4 separate regions of the Homo sapiens genome follow, and regions 2, 3 and 4 are each linked to region 1. Evidence: promoter capture Hi-C in 16 types of primary human blood cells and fetal thymus (Javierre and others, 2016). All regions are on one chromosome and are shown on one strand. Each heading gives the region's core, a stretch centred on a gene start or on the middle of the fragment in contact. The rest is flanking DNA. Distances are from core to core; before and after follow the strand shown. Region 1 holds the start of GPN2-AS1 (GPN2 antisense RNA 1). Region 2 holds the start of DHDDS-AS1 (DHDDS antisense RNA 1). Region 3 overlaps RPS6KA1 (ribosomal protein S6 kinase A1). Region 4 overlaps RPS6KA1 (ribosomal protein S6 kinase A1).

The links. The method cuts DNA at HindIII sites, captures the fragments that hold promoters and counts their contacts. A CHiCAGO score of 5 or more calls a contact.
Region 2: a fragment that was not itself captured here is called in contact with the fragment with the promoter of GPN2-AS1 in region 1 in 1 of 17 cell types (neutrophils); the score reaches 6.4 in neutrophils.
Region 3: a fragment that was not itself captured here is called in contact with the fragment with the promoter of GPN2-AS1 in region 1 in 6 of 17 cell types (neutrophils, naive CD8 T cells, total CD8 T cells and 3 more); the score reaches 10.5 in neutrophils.
Region 4: a contact is called between a fragment that was not itself captured here and the fragment with the promoter of GPN2-AS1 in region 1, in 5 of 17 cell types (neutrophils, endothelial precursors, total CD8 T cells and 2 more). The highest score is 10.8, in neutrophils.

Annotation. Positions count from the first base shown.
Region 1 is chr1:26,874,110-26,877,835 of GRCh38, reverse strand. GPN2-AS1 (GPN2 antisense RNA 1) reads right to left here and starts at 1,702. Exons shown (of 2, transcript NR_199049.1): 1 at 1,526-1,702. It overlaps GPN2 (GPN-loop GTPase 2), which reads left to right. Exons shown (of 5, transcript NM_018066.4): 5 at 1-1,704. RefSeq lists an enhancer at 2,463-2,962. The HindIII fragment of the contact is 11,262 bases long and covers 1-3,726 here.
Region 2 is chr1:26,464,404-26,468,129 of GRCh38, reverse strand. The region is part of intron 8 of DHDDS (dehydrodolichyl diphosphate synthase subunit); the gene reads right to left. It overlaps DHDDS-AS1 (DHDDS antisense RNA 1), which reads left to right and starts at 593. Exons shown (of 3, transcript NR_125953.1): 1 at 593-1,082. The HindIII fragment of the contact is 1,205 bases long and covers 1,474-2,678 here.
Region 3 is chr1:26,556,326-26,560,051 of GRCh38, reverse strand. RPS6KA1 (ribosomal protein S6 kinase A1) reads right to left here. Exons shown (of 22, transcript NM_002953.4): 12 at 3,334-3,398; 13 at 2,952-3,054; 14 at 1,115-1,245. Among named protein-coding and RNA genes, the nearest start is that of MIR1976, 3.6 kb to the right of the region's middle. The HindIII fragment of the contact is 3,642 bases long and covers 303-3,726 here.
Region 4 is chr1:26,574,663-26,578,388 of GRCh38, reverse strand. It overlaps RPS6KA1 (ribosomal protein S6 kinase A1), which reads right to left. Exons shown (of 22, transcript NM_002953.4): 22 at 3,364-3,726. Among named protein-coding and RNA genes, the nearest start is that of MIR1976, 22 kb to the right of the region's middle. The HindIII fragment of the contact is 5,473 bases long and covers 1-3,726 here.

The DNA.
Region 1 (3,726 bases), core at 453-2,952:
TCTTGAACTACTGACCTCATGATTTACCCGCCTTGGCCTCCCAAAGTGCTGGGATTACAGGCGTGAGCCACTGCACCCGGCCACATTTGGACTTATTAACACATATGAAGTGCTTGGTATTTTAGAGTGCTTCCACACACACAATCCTCATTAGAGATAGACAGGATGGGGAGAATTAATAAGCCATTGCCCGTGTTACAGTGAGGAAGCAGAAAGATGAGAAGTTTGAACTTTGGTCAGCCTGGCTTTCTCATAACCCATTTTGCTGACTAAATTGCGAGTATCCCTCCTTTGGTATATTTATTGGTGAGAAGTCACAGCCCTTGTCCCACAGGTTTTGCAGCCAATCAGGAGAAAGAAATTAGGCACCTGTAAAGTATTACTGAATCATAGATAGTTCACCAGTGGTTTGGGCAGTTGGCAAATTAATTTAGGGACATCTGTTCTGAAACAGCATTGAAATAGGACTGACTGCTTTGCTTTCTGGTTGTGGCAGCCAGAGCCAAAGGCAGATGAATGAGGGGCTATGAGGAGGCTACTGTGGCTGGAACAGTATGAAAGCAACCTCAGCTCCCACGCCTGGCTGTAAAGGGGATAATAACTGGGTGCTGCTTCCCAGCCTCTTTCATCTGAGAAGTTCAAAGCACCTCACCCCTATTAACACCCCACAGAGTAGGTAGGAAGTACCAATAGAGCAAGCCAGGAAAACTGAGGCCAGGAGGCACAGCCTGGGGCTAGCTGTGAATCACCTGTGGGGCCTAGAGCCCAGGAATCCTGACGCCCAGGCTACTGGACAAATCCTTTATCAGGGCATTAGGGTGGGTGCTATGCTTTTGAAAGCAGTACCAACGGCTGTGGTCGTGGGTTTTGATGCTTGCCACTCACAGAGGCCCCAGCTCTCACCATAACAAACCAAATGGGGGCTGGAAGGCATCCTTTACAACTTTATGGTCTCGTATGCAAGCACCCTCAGCATTCTCTGCACCCATGGAGTGGAGATGGGTGGGAGTAATCCAAGGCCTTTATTTTCAGGCCATGGTTTGACAGCAAGGGTATTTTCTTCCCCAATAAACGTAGCTTCTGTCTACCTTCCACTGGCAGCAAAATGATTTTCTGTTCTCTGCATATACTGAGGGGATCTGCACAGTGCAGAAAGGAAGATGTCCGAGATCCAAGTGAGGCCTGTTCAGTGTGAAATGTCTAGGGTAGAAGAAAGACCATCCTCCATTATGGCTGGCATGTGGCAGTCATCCTTAAGATTATTTTTAAATTTCCTAATAAATATAGGAAAGTAAAAAACTTAGAAAATGAAAGAGAAGGCCGAGCACGGTGGCTCACGCCTGTAATCCCAGCACTTTGGGAGGCCAAGGCGGGCTGATCACCTGAGGTCAGGAGTGTAAGACAAGCCTGACCAACATGGTGAAAACCTGTCTCTGCTAAAAATACAAAAAAATGAGCAGGGCATGGTGGCATGCGCCTGTAATTCCAGCTACTTAGGAGACTGAGGCAGGAGAATCGCTTGAACCTGGGAGGCGGAAGTTTCAGTGAGCGGAGATCGCGCCATTGCACTCCAGCCTGGGTAACAAGATGGAAAGTACATCTCAAAAAAAAAAAAAACGAAAATGAGTCACCCAGAATCCCATAACGGAAACTTTCTATGGGGTCATCTGTTTAAGAGAAAAATAAATTCTATATTCAAATGTATATTTTGTGTATTCTCTTTTTTTCTCATCTCTGTAAATACCTGGAGATATTTTATGTATTCTTTCAGCCTTATTTTTATACCTGGGGTGGATATTGCATTTATATAAGTGGGATATTTTATAATTGTGTTGTATCCTGCCTTTTTCAGTTAACACCATTCCATGTAATAAAAAATAGATACAATTCCTGTAATTCTAGGACTCTGGGAGGCTGAAGTGGGAGGATCACTTGAGCCAGGAGGTGGAGGCTGCAGTGAACTATGATTGTGTCACTGCACTCTAGCTTGGGCAACAGAGTGAGACCCTGTCTCAAACAATCAAGTAAATAACCTTTTTAATGTCACTTTGGTAATAGTCCATGGTTTGGCTATAACATTGTTTACCTATCCATACTCCCGTGGTTAGCCTACTACTAGCCTACAAGTCATCACCAACTTTTACTTTTGTAAATAGTGTGATTAATATCCTCGTACCCAAATCATTGTCTGAGTCTCTGATTTTTAACTTGGGAGGTAGTCCTGGAAATGAAATAACTGACATATTCCAGGTTCTGGATTCATGTTGCCAAAATGCTTTCCAAAAAATGTGCCACTTTACATCTCACTGATAGTGTCTGAAATTGCTCTTCTCATCTCCAGACCTCCCTTGACAATTCTCTACAACTTCGGGAGGGAGGAAGCCCTCTCTGAGTGTCTTAGAAGGGACCTTCCTGGTCATCCCTACTAACCACTGACATTAGGTTATATGCATTTCTTGGCTCTGAACTGGGAACCTCAACAATTAGAAGACAGTGTAGAATTGGAAGAACTTAGCAGGGACCACAGGTAATTGGAAAGGTTTCCAGCCTGACAAAGAGGCTTAGGCATGAGGGTGAGGCCCTAAAGCCCACAGAGCTGAAGCACATCCAGTCTGCCTGGATTAGCAAAATGCTCACCCGCTGGTGGCTGAGAATATAGGAAGTATGGTCCCATTAGGATCTGTGGGAAAGAGAAAGGGAAGGCCGATTTGAGGAATTCTCTGTCCCTTTCTCAAGAATCCTGAGGGGGGAGGGGAGTGGCTTCAGACCCACCCAAGCACTATTAAGGCCCTCGCCAATTTTGAAAGCAGTGAAGAGGCCCAATTATCCCGGAATCCTGGAGGGAAATTCTCTAGCAAAACACTAGTCCCCTCCTCTCTCTCTTCTCTTGTCTCTGGCTTTTGAGTCTTTACTTACCCAGCCTGATCTGGGCCATTCACTCTCTTTTCTTGTCCCGTTTAGAAGGAGTTGCAGCACATACCTCCATGGCATCAGGCCTGCTAAAGATGTGGAAACCTGTGTCCCTCATTTCAAGCCCAGTGTGACCTTTTCCAGCCAGGGAGCTAACTCCAGGCAGCCCCAGAAGCCCAGGTGTCTAGATGGGCCAAGACAGGGGCTGTGACAAGATGGGGTGGGGATTTAGGGGCCAATTGAGGTGGAAAAAAGACAGTGAAAACAAGTAAAAAATGACAGTATTGGTAAATTGCTCTGGATGAGAATGCACAGCGAAGGTTGTTTTTTTCTCCTCATTCTAAAACTCTGAAGCAGTTGTGGAGGAGGGACATGAGAGGCCCATTCACAGCCATGCCAAATAAACGTGAATTTTTTTTTTGAGACAGAATCTTGCACTGTTGCCCAAGCTCACTGCAACCTCCACCTTCCAGGCTCAAGCCATCTCCCACCTCAGCCTACTGTGTAGCTGGGACTGTAGGCCCATGCCACCATGCCTGACTAATTTTTGTATTTTTTGTAGAGATGGGGTTTCGTCATCTTGCCCAGGCTGGTCTCGAACTCCTGAGCTCAAGCTATCCTCCTGCCTCAGCCTCCTAGAGTGCTGGGATTACAGGCATGAGCACCCGGCCAAATGTGAAGTCTAATGCAGTGTGCTTGCCATGTCAATGTAGCTTCCAGGAATGTCCCCTAGTGCCTCCCTTTGCACTGAATTGTCACCTCCAAGTTCTTCCTATATTTAATCCTGGAGCCTCCACATTGTGGAGTCACAGAAAC
Region 2 (3,726 bases), core at 827-3,326, 410 kb after region 1:
GAAAATAAGCCCTTGGAAGTTTGAGAGCCTTCAAGCCTCTTGCAACCAGCTCTGACACCAGGTGGTGATCATACTCCCTGGCAGCAGTTATCATCCCAAGTACTAGAGGGCAGAGACTGGGCTTCTTCCTCTCCAGCACTTGGGGTGCCCTGTACATGTGAAACACTCAACTGACTGACCACGTGATCCCAGGAGAGCAGTGAGGATGCTCCTGATACAGAAGAGCGGAAAATCCCTTTGGAGCAGAACCAAGGCTTTCCTGTGCCTCACTGATCCTCTCTGTTCCTGCCAGTCTAACTGACCTGCAAAGCCTTTGCACTAGAGCTCCTCCTGCCAAACCTATTCCATGTGTGAGAAACTCTATTTTCCTATGGTATCCTATACCCTGATGACCCTTCCCACATTCTACCTTGTATTACGATAAACTTGTATACATGTTTTTGTCCTAATCAGCCTGTAAGCACCTTGACTGCTCTGTCTTCATGGTTTAAAGAATATCTTACATGTGCACAACCACTTCATCTGTTGCCTCACTTGACCCTCACAATGGAGCTGTGAGGGAGGTACTTTCTGCTGGAGACAGACATGGAGCAGGGAACTGATTTGCTGTCTCTCAGCAATAAAGGTTTACTGCATGAATAAGGATGACAAATGAGAATTCTGGACTGTCCCCCCCGGCTCCTGAATAATCCCAGGCATTCAAGAATACTTCTCTTCTGCTATTACAATGAATTACATGTGGAGCTATGAGGACTTCGGGCTTGAACAGTTGCCGTAGAGCTCTCCGTCTTGCTGGAAGGGCTTCTTCCAGGCCTTGGTCAGGAGGCTCCCTGGGTGCTACATACAGGATTTTTTTTGAGGATATGGAGATGCGCAGGACACGATCCCAGCAATCCAGGTGCTTACAGGCTGATTGTACAGCCATGCACACAGAGTGCCACGATGCAAAATAGGATGTGGTAAGGGTCATGCAGTTCAGAGGAGAAAGCAAGTGTGGCTGATGAACATCACGGAGCAGTGACCTTCATGGACAGACAGAATTTGAGCTGGCCCTTTAACCAATGAGGAGGATTCAAACAGAGGTGAGGTGTGTGGGGGGCAGGGAGAATATTCTGGCAGTGGGAGTAATGAGCAAAGATGCATGGAACCGAAGAGCCTGTTAAGGCCAGAGTAAGTCCACCTGGAGCACTGGGGTTTGAGAAGTTCCTAAGGCCTCCCTCACCTCTCTAAGGCTCTCTCTTACTCTGCAAAACCGGGATAAGAGTACCCACCTCACTGGGTTGTTTGAGGAAAAATGAGATAATGAATTTTCAGCCTACTGCTTGGCTATTAACTGTTAGCTGTTCTATCACCGCCACTTGTGGACTGGGCTAAGTAGTCTAAGTTTCTGGCAGAACAGAAAGGATGGGGGACGCTCAGCAACAGAGGGAGGAAATATGGAGCTAGCTAAAGCCACTTCATGAGGCGCAAGCTTCTTCCAGATGGCATCAGAGTGCATGCCAGCAATGGGGGCTGTAGCCCAGGCAGAGCCTGGCCCCTGTCTGCCAGGAATTAGCAGTTCATTGTTCAGATAGCAGAGTTGGGAGGGTGTCTGCTCGTCATTTTACAGAAAATGACAGCGAGGCTGAGATGGCTGAAGTTCCCTTGGCTTCTCCACTAAGATAACTTCTTGAGAGGACAATGTGAAGTGTATCTCGTGCCTGTGTATAAGCTCTACTTTCTAGGGGTGGAAAAGCTGGTGGCCTGTATCTGGATACCTGTCTATCCAGCTTCCACATGGTCTGAATCTACCCTTTCAATCTCAGAGGTGTTTCCAGTTCTTCTCAAGTACTTACCCTTGGGAAATCCAAGCTAACAGAAGTCCTAGAGGTCAACTTTTCTCTCCCTGACCATTTGTCTACTATCCTTGTATAATGACCAATCAGGGTAAGTGAGGGCGTTAATTCTTTCCTTAGAGACTTTTTGTACAGACCTTATCCAATCTTGGTGCAAGGGCTCCAAGAAGCTCACTTTGAGAAATGTGGTTCTAACCTATGAATCTAAATTCCTCCTGGGCATTATCCCTCTCTGCTCTTATTCTCTCCTTGGTAGAATCAGAGAACAAGATGTAATAGTCCCTCCAGTACTTAAATCTAAAAGTCCTCTACCACTCTGTTGGCACCTGGAGAGAGGCTGCAGGTCCTTGGCTTCAAAACATTAGCCAATGAAAAGTCCTTCCCCAAGCTGCAACCAGCCAGCCCAGGTCAGCAGCATGAGGAATGCATTTCTGAGGGCTGCTCTCAGGCAGAGAAGGGCACCTCCTACCAGAAACATGATGTTCTGAAGCACCCTCAGAGTCTCCTTGCCTGGGGAGTTGTACTGGGGACAGGATGTGCAGGGTGCTTTTCCAGAGAGGAGTCTGAGGAGAGGCCAAGAGACACACATGTGGGGAACAATATTGGCCACCATTCTTGGAAAATGAACTCTGTTCCAGCCACTGCACTCAGCACTTGACATGTGTTAGCTTACTGAATCCCTATCACAAACCTGCAAGGTAGGTATTACTGTAAACGCTACTTCTCTCATTTTACAGGTGAGGAAAATGATACTCTGAGGGGTTAAGTAACTGTACAGTCATATAGCTATGTAGGCAGTGCCAATATTCAAAGTCATGAATGTCTGAGACATTAACTCAAGCTTTTAGGCTAAGGTGGGAGGCTCGCTTGAGCCCAGCTGCTCAAGACCAGCCTGGGCAACATGGCGAGACCCCATTTCCACATGCATACATATATGCATACATACATAACTCAAGCTTTTATCCTGAGGAGAAGATAGTGACAACCTGAAGAGCAGAAGAAATATAATGTTCAATCCAGCCCGTTTAAATTGTGACAAATGTACTACAGGAAGCTTCGTGGGAACATGTGTCTTTTCCCTCTCTAATATCATCCTTGGAGATGAGGTGAACACTTTTTACTCATCTCCATCAGTGACCTCTCAAGGACCTACCATCCATGCAACTTGTGATTGAGGATCAGCTGCTCTGCACTGCCGCACACCCCCTCCCTGGCCTGATTCTCTATTTGTCCCTGCCTCTTTGCTGACAAGTCCTACTGCATCATAGTCAAGATCTCCCTTTGCCAGCCTTTAAGACTGGCTAGGTGACCACCTGGAGACTGTCATGGTCCATTCAGATACCAAGGTCTGGCTCCCCACAACTTGTAGCCAAGTCCCTGCTTCCCTTACGATCCACCCGCTGCCTTCCTCTCAGTAAGCTACTCTAGGTCCAGAGCCTAGCCCCTTGCCCTGGCTTCCTGCAGAGAATAGGGACACATTGGGCAGGGCCTAGAGACAGAGCAGCTCAGATTTTAAAATGGGAATTTGGGTGATGGGGCAAGAGCACAGACATACAGGTAGGAAACTGGAGGGCATGGAACAGGTAACTGGGAAGAGTCCAGTTTGGCCATGATACAGGGTCTGTAAAAGGGAGACATGAGAAAAGCCTGGAAAGACCTCTCTGGTCTGAGAACAAACTGGTGAGGATGCTGTTAGTCTGGATTCTCCCCTTAGTGCATCTGCCAAGGTGATATGATTTCTAGAAACAGAGCTTTGAAGCTTCTGGGGTAGAGAAAGCCTGGCCAGGACCTCCAAGGGCTCCTGCTGGAGAAGGCTTCAAGATAATCAGTATCTCTATTATAACTTTGGATTCCTTGCTCTAAAAACAGAGGCAATAATAATAGTATCTGC
Region 3 (3,726 bases), core at 874-3,373, 320 kb after region 1:
GTCTTACGCTGTTGCCCAGGCTGGAGTGCAGTGGTACGTTCTCAGCTCACTGCAACCTCTGCCTCCCAAGTAGCTGGGACTATAGGCACGCGCCAACACGCCCAGCTGATTTTTGTATTTTTAGAGACGGGGTTTCGCCATGTTGGCCAGATGGGTCTGTTTAAATTCCTGGCCTCAAGCAATCCACCCTTCTTGGCCTCCCAAAGTGCTGGGATTACAGGCATGAGCCACCGTGCCCAGCCCACATGAACTTTACATGTATTAACTCTAATAATCCTCATAACAGCTCTATGGAGGAAGCTTCTATCATTTCCCCCATTTACAGATGAGGAAACTGAGGCACGAGGAAGGGAGTATCTCATCCAAAGTCCATTATCTGGTCAGGTGCTCATGTCTGTAATCTCAGCACCTTGGGAGGCTGAGGTGGGCGGATCACTTGAGGTCAGGAGTTTGACACCAGCCTAGCCAACATGGTAAAACCCCGTCTCTACTAAAAATACAAAAAAAAAAAAAAAAAATTAGCTGGGTGTGGTGGTGTATATCTGTAGTCCCAGCTATTCGGGAGACTGAGGCAGGAGAATTTTTTGAACCTGGGAGGTGGAGGCTGTAGTGAGCTGAGATTGTGCCACTGCACTCCAGCCTGGGCAACAGAGCAAGACTACGTCTCAAAAACAAACAAACAAAAAACCCCAAAGTCCATTATCTTGTGAATCTGGAACCCATGCAATGAGCTCCACAGTCTACATTCTTGCCTCTCAACCTGAAACTTTCATTAGCAGTAGAAGTGTACAAATGGGGAACAAGTGTGATGAGATCCAAGTCCTTCGCTACACTTATGCCGGAGACACGACAGTCACTCGGCACCACCACCCTGGGCACCTCCTGACATGTACCCAGACCCTGGCTCTGTGCTGGGAAATGTACACCCATATCATCATCCAATTATCAGGGCCACTGTGTGAGGTGGGCCTTACTGTCCCTGTTTTATGTTGGAGGCCCTACTGGTCCCACAGTGGCATGAGGGTATGAACCTGGTTCTGTCCAACTCAGAGCCTGTGTACTCAGCCATTCTTTAGAAAAGGATAATGGAGCAGCAGCCCCCTGCCCCCCTCACCTGTACCACCGAGTGCAGGGGTGCCTGCGGGGCACGAGGCTTGCCGTCGTCTTCCATCAGGCCGGTGGCCACGAAGCTGAAGCCCCGGAACAGCTGATGGGCCCCAGCGCTGGGGGGGATGCCTGGGGAATCTGTACGGATGGAAGGAGAATGTGAGGGTACCTGAGGAGGTCCCCTCGACCCTGAGGCAGCCCAGCAAAGGGGGAGCACAGGGCCTCCAGACCTGCCTCAGGGGCTGGCCGTGGCGGGAGCCTGCAGAGGGCCTGTCCATCACAGGCCTTGGCCCAACTGCTCATATGTGTTTATTAGACCAGCCCAGTCCTGTCGCATGAGGAACAAAAAAGACTCTCACATCCACCTCCATCCCAGGCCAAGACAGTTCATCCCTTCCTGGATGCTTCCTCCCCAGCTTCCCCATCTTACGTCAGCCCCTTCAGGTCCATCTCTGCACAGCAGCCAGAGGGAAGGTTCCAACCACAAATCTGCCACCCTGCCCACACCTTTCAAAGGTTCCCGTCTGCCTTCAGGAGTAAGTCCAGCTCCTGAGTCTGGCAATTGAGGGCCCTGTGATCCTCACCTCCTCTCTCTCCATACCACAGCTGAGCCATGTTGGACTTCTCAGATCCTTAGAGGGGTCTCTGAGCCCTTGCACACACTGTTCCCTTTAACTAGATAATCCACTCCTTGCCTATCCTTCAAGACTCAACTCGCACGCTCCCTCCTCTGAGAAGCCTTGCCTGATGCTGCTCCTCCGGCCCCTGACTCCTACGAAGCTGCACTTGTCACGTTGCCCAGCGGACTGCTTGGAGAAGTGCTGTCTCTGTCATCAGAGGCGTGCAAGTGCAGTGAGAAAAGCACCCCCTTGTGGATCACCTGAGGTCAGGAGTTCGAGACCAGCCTGGCCAACATGGTGAAACCCCGTCTCTACTAAAAATACAAAAATTAGCCAGGCGTGCTGACACATGCCTGTAATCCCAGCTACTCGGGAGGCTGAGGCAGGAGAATCTCTTGAACCCAGGAGGTGGAGGTTGCAGTAAGCTGAGATCACGCCATTGCATTCCAGCCTGGGCAACAGAGCGAGACTCCATCTTGAAAAGAGGAGAGGAGAGGGAAGGGAAGGAGAGGGAAGGGGAGGGGAGGGGAGGGGAGGGGAGGGGAGGAGAGGGGAGGGGAGGAGAGGAGAGAAGAAAAGCACACCCTCTCCTAAAACATGCCCTTATAGGAGGTTTCCCAGAACATTCCACCCCACACCCACTGTCAATATCTGGCCAAAAAGTTAGGATTCACCAGGTTCCTTCCCAGAAGCTCCCTCACTGGCTTCTTGTAGCAACCCCAGGGAATGAGTGGGTTTGTGGCTGTGCCCTTGTTCCAGATAAGTACACGGAGGCCGGGCAGTCAGGGCAGCCAAAGCTGATTCCCATGCCTGTCCCTGACCTATGGGCACTGTCACCTCTGCTCAGCCACCACACAGTGTGGCTGGGTCAGATTCTTTCTCCCTGACGTGATGGTAAGCCTGATGTGTTTGGTCTTCCCAGTGGGCTGGAAGGTGCCCCGGGCAGGGGTCCTGGCTTTTCTACTGTGGCCTTCACCACCCACACATCCCCACTCCCACTCTCTCACCAGACACAAAGAGACCCACAGAGCCCCATAGTGAGAGAGTCGGGCGGAGTGAGACAGGGACAAAGTCAGTCCCACGGAGCCAGAAACTCACCCGCCTGCCCACCCGCATACCTCGGCCTGTCAGTGTCCCTGACTATCTCTGCCCCCCAAGCTGCCACCGACTCCCGGCTTCCCTCCTGTACCAGCCCAAGACAGACAAAACAGATAAGGGACGCACCCTTGGGTGTGCGGGACGTGAACTCGGTGTCAAAGTAGAAGGTGTCATCAGGCTGAGCCACTGCTGGCTTGAAGGGTGGCTTGATCTCACGACGGTATAGCTTCTGCACAGTGGGGTGGGCACTCTGGTCACCATGGCATCCTCAACAGCCCACCAGGAGCCCCATGCAGGAGGAGGTGCTGGGCTTGGAACATAGGCCATATTGCCCAGCTCTCGGAATTGCTTGCCCTCAGGAGGCCAGCCCTTGTCTTCAAGGGCAGGCTGTGACCCTCTGCTCCTGCGTCTGGGGCCCTCGCTGGCAGAGGCTCCCCTCCCACCACCCTTCCTGTGGCCAAGATGGCTGAGCCCTGGCCAGAGCCCTGGTGTGGGTGGACACACTCACATTCCAGTCAATGGTGGAGTAGAAGACATGCCGCTTGATTTCCTCTGCCCCATCAGGGCCGGAGCCTGAAAGAGCCCAAATGAAGGGTCTGTCCCTGGCTGGCACAAGTCCCAGATATTACCCTGCCCACCAAGCAGCCTCACAGGGCTCTGGGACCAGCTGCTGGAGCAGAGGGGAAAATGGGCTCACTCAGCCTCAAATCTACCCAGCCATCACCCTAAGGCCTGTCACCTACTCAGCATTTTCCACTTTCTGGAGCTTCTGATGAAGAAATTCCAATGTACCAGTGGGAGGAGGAAGGCCCAGAGACTTTAGGCAACTTCTCCAAGGCCACACAGTTAGAACAGAAGCTGAGCTTGTTCTGAGACCTACAGAGAGCCCCACCTCATTCCA
Region 4 (3,726 bases), core at 1,089-3,588, 300 kb after region 1:
GGAATGAACAAAGCACAGCCCACACCCTCAGGTTCACAGACTAGTGGGGAGAAAACACATCATCAGCTGTTTCCAAAAGTGTGGTATACGCAGAAATGGGGCACAGAGCGGGGTCTGAGGACCCCAAAGGAAGGTCACCAAACAGTTTGTGGTGTCCTAGTTGGCTTCCTGGAGGTGTCATTTGAATTTTCCTAAAGGATGGGAAATTAGCAGGGCACACGTGGCAGCAGAATCCAGTGGAGGCAGAAGCACGGCAGGTTTGGGTCTTGTGAGCAGTTTGGGGACAAGTTACAGAGTTGACACTGGGATCTTGGTGGGGGCCAGATCACACAGGACACTGAATTCAAGCGAGGATGCCTCAGCAATATCTTGTAGACAGTGACGAGTCACTTCAGGGCAGATGCTGGGTCAGATTTGTGATTGTAAATGGAGGATGTTGGGGACACAAAAGTCTGGAGAGATTTAGTAGGCTACTGGAAGAACAAAAATATGAGAAGGGCAGGGAGGATGGAGAGGAGGGGATGGATCCTCCAAATATTTAGGAAACAGAATTGATGGTGGCAGGATGCAGAAGTGGGGGGAAGGAGGCAGGGTGATGCTCAGGATTCCAGCTGGGTGATGGGGTCCAGGGGAGACAACCCTGGATGATGGGTGGGACAGGAAATGTTGGTTCCAAGATGGGGAAACCAAGTCTCCAAGAAGTGAAACACACAGGACATGGGTTGGGGCTAAGTACCACATAAGTGTCACTGGTTGCAAAGGAGGGCTTCCTAGCCCATGGGGCCCCAACAGCACCCTCCTTGCTCCTGTGGGGAGGCTGCCGGGCTTAGAATCCGTACACTTAGGCCAGCCCCAAAACTTAGCTGCTGTTATCAGAATCTCCTTCCATCATAACAGGACTTATTCACTTCTAAGGCCCTAGCTTTCTAAAATCTGTAAAGTGGGGCGGCCGAGACATAATGGAAACCAAGGCCTGGTTCATAAGGCTTGGAATCTTGCCAGACTGGGGGTGGGGGGGTCCTCTGGCTGTCATCCCTGAGTGTCCCTTGCTGGTGCTCCAGGGCTCAGCACAGGCATCCCCCCACCCCCTCATCTTTGCTCAGGCCCTAGAACAGCACTTCTCAAACTTTAATATGCACAGAAATCACATGTAGACCTTGTTATAAGATAGATTCCTATTAACCAGGTCTGGGGACAGGCCTGAGATTCAGCACTTCTACCCAGCTCCCAGATGATGCTGATGCTACTGGTATGTGGACCACACTCTCAGAAGCCCCGTCTCTTGGCTTTGCAAACTTTCTCCAAGCTAATGACTTCCAAATTTATCTTTCCAGTTCAGATCTCTCCCTAGAACTTCAACTTCTAATTACAACTCTTATTTGACATCTCCATTTGGATATTTTTATTTATATTTATTTATTTATTTTTTGAGATGGAGTCTCGCTCTCTCACCCAGGCTGGAGTGCAGTGGCACGATCTCGGCTCACTGTGAGCTCCATTTTCTGGGTTCATGCCATTCTCCTGCCTCAGCCTCCTGAGTAGCTGGGACTACAGGTGCCCGCCACTAGGCCCGGCTAATTTTTTGTATTTTTAGTAGAGACAGGGTTTCACCATGTTAGCCAGGATTGTCTCGATCTCCTGACCTCCTGATCCGCCCGCCTCGGCCTCCCAAAGTGCTGGGATTACAGGCATGAGCCACTGCGCCCGGCATAATTTTCTATTATTTTTAGTAGAGACGGGGTTTCTCCATGTTGGTCAGGCTGGTTTCGAACTCTCAACCTCAGGTGATCCACCTGCCTCGGCCTCCCAAAGTGCTGGGATTACAGGCGTGAGCCACCATGCCCAGCCATTTGGATACTTAAAAGTTACCTCCCACAGAGCTCTAAAAATTTTCCTCAAACCTATTTCTCTCCAATGCTTCCCCCAAAACTCTTTCCCCAAAAATCTAGAAGATATCCTTGAATCTTCTGTTTCCCTTATCCTCTGCATGCAAACTGCCAGCAAGTGCTGTCTACTTTACCTCCAAAGCATATCCTGACCCCATCTACTCCATCCCAATCTCCATCCCACCACCCTAGTCCAAGCCACCTCATCTCTTGCCTGGGCTACTGCAGTAGCCACCAACCTGGTCACCTTGCTTCCCTCCTGCCTCCCCACCTCACTGTCCAAATTCTCTACAGAGCAATCGGAGTGATCTTTTATTTTTTTGAGACAGTCTCGCTCTGTCGCCTGGGCTGGAGTGCAGTGGTGCGATCGCGGCTCACTGCAACCTCTGTCTCCCAGATTCAAGCAATTCTCATGCCTCAGCCTTGCGAGCTGATGGGTGGGAGCATGCGCCACCACACCCAGCTAATTTTTGTATTTCTAGTAGAGAGAGTTTCGCCATGTTGGCCAGGCTGGTCTTGAACTCCTGACCTCAAGTGATCTGCCTGCCTCGGCCTCCCAAAGTGGTGGGATAACAGGCGTGAACCACTGCACCTGGCCCAGAGTGATCTCTTAAAAATGTGAATCAAATCATGATCAAATCATGTCACTTTCCTGCTCAAATTATTTTAGGAGCTTGCGCCTCACTCAGAATTAAATGCACGCCTAATCCTGGCTTACAGTGCCTAGCATAACTGGCCTCTGCCTCCTTTCCAGCCTCATCTTGGGCAAACGCCTGGCTCTGGGGTCACAGCTACATCAGCCTCCTCTCATCCCTGAGCACACCGAGCCTGTTTCCCCCTCATGGCCTTTGTCCTGACTGCCCTCTGCCTACCAGTCTTGGCTGACCCCTTCTCACCATTCAGATCTCAGCTCCTGGGTTACCTCCCCAGAATGGCCTTCCCTGATTACCCAATATCTCACCCCAGTTTAATTCTGTATGTGTCTTATCAGTAGCTGACCATGGCTTGTTAAGTGTCCGTTTCCCCTACTGGGAAGTAAGACCCCTGGACACAATGACCTTGTTCTTTACCTGGTTCACCAGCATCCAGAACAGGGCCAGAATGAGTGCTCAGAAAATACTGCATGAGAAAATGTCATTCCCCAACTTGAGCCTGTTTCCCCATCTATAAAACAGGGATAATACAGAGCATCTACCTCACAGGGTTAAGATTAAATGAGATATTCATGTGAGGCCCAGGCATAGTGCCTGGCACTTGGTCACCATTGGCTAATAATACTGTTATCAATACCATAATGGAATCCCCTGGCAGGAACACGTGGGCCAGGCCAGCGGGATTCCCACACACTCCCCAGATGACCTGGTTCCAAGCAGCTGGGCTAACTGGCCCTGGCCCATTTTCTGTCACTGCCAATGTCTTCAACATCCGATAGCAGAGAGAGGGTAAATTCAGGGATGAAGAGTGCAGGAGAGCGTGCTTCAACTCAACAGTTTATTAGAAAGGCCATGGACAGATGAACCCTGAGTAACCAGCTGAGGAAGAAATGAAAAAAGACCCTGTCCCTCATGGCCCGCCCACTGGCCTCCTGTGAACTCTGTCCTGTTGCCAACCCCAGATGAAGTCAGCCAAAAAGTGCTTTCCACATCCTCTCTCTGGGGCTGCCCAGCCTGACCGCAGGGGATCCACTGGCAGAGCCAAGGTGGATGCTGGTGCCTGAAGCTGGAAGCCAGCAGGACATGAGACCCCTCCTGTAGCAGGAAGTGGTTCTAGAACTCCCAGCAGAACAGAACGGAAAAGGAGCTGATTGGGGATAGAATGAGTTCTGCTAAACAGCCAGATG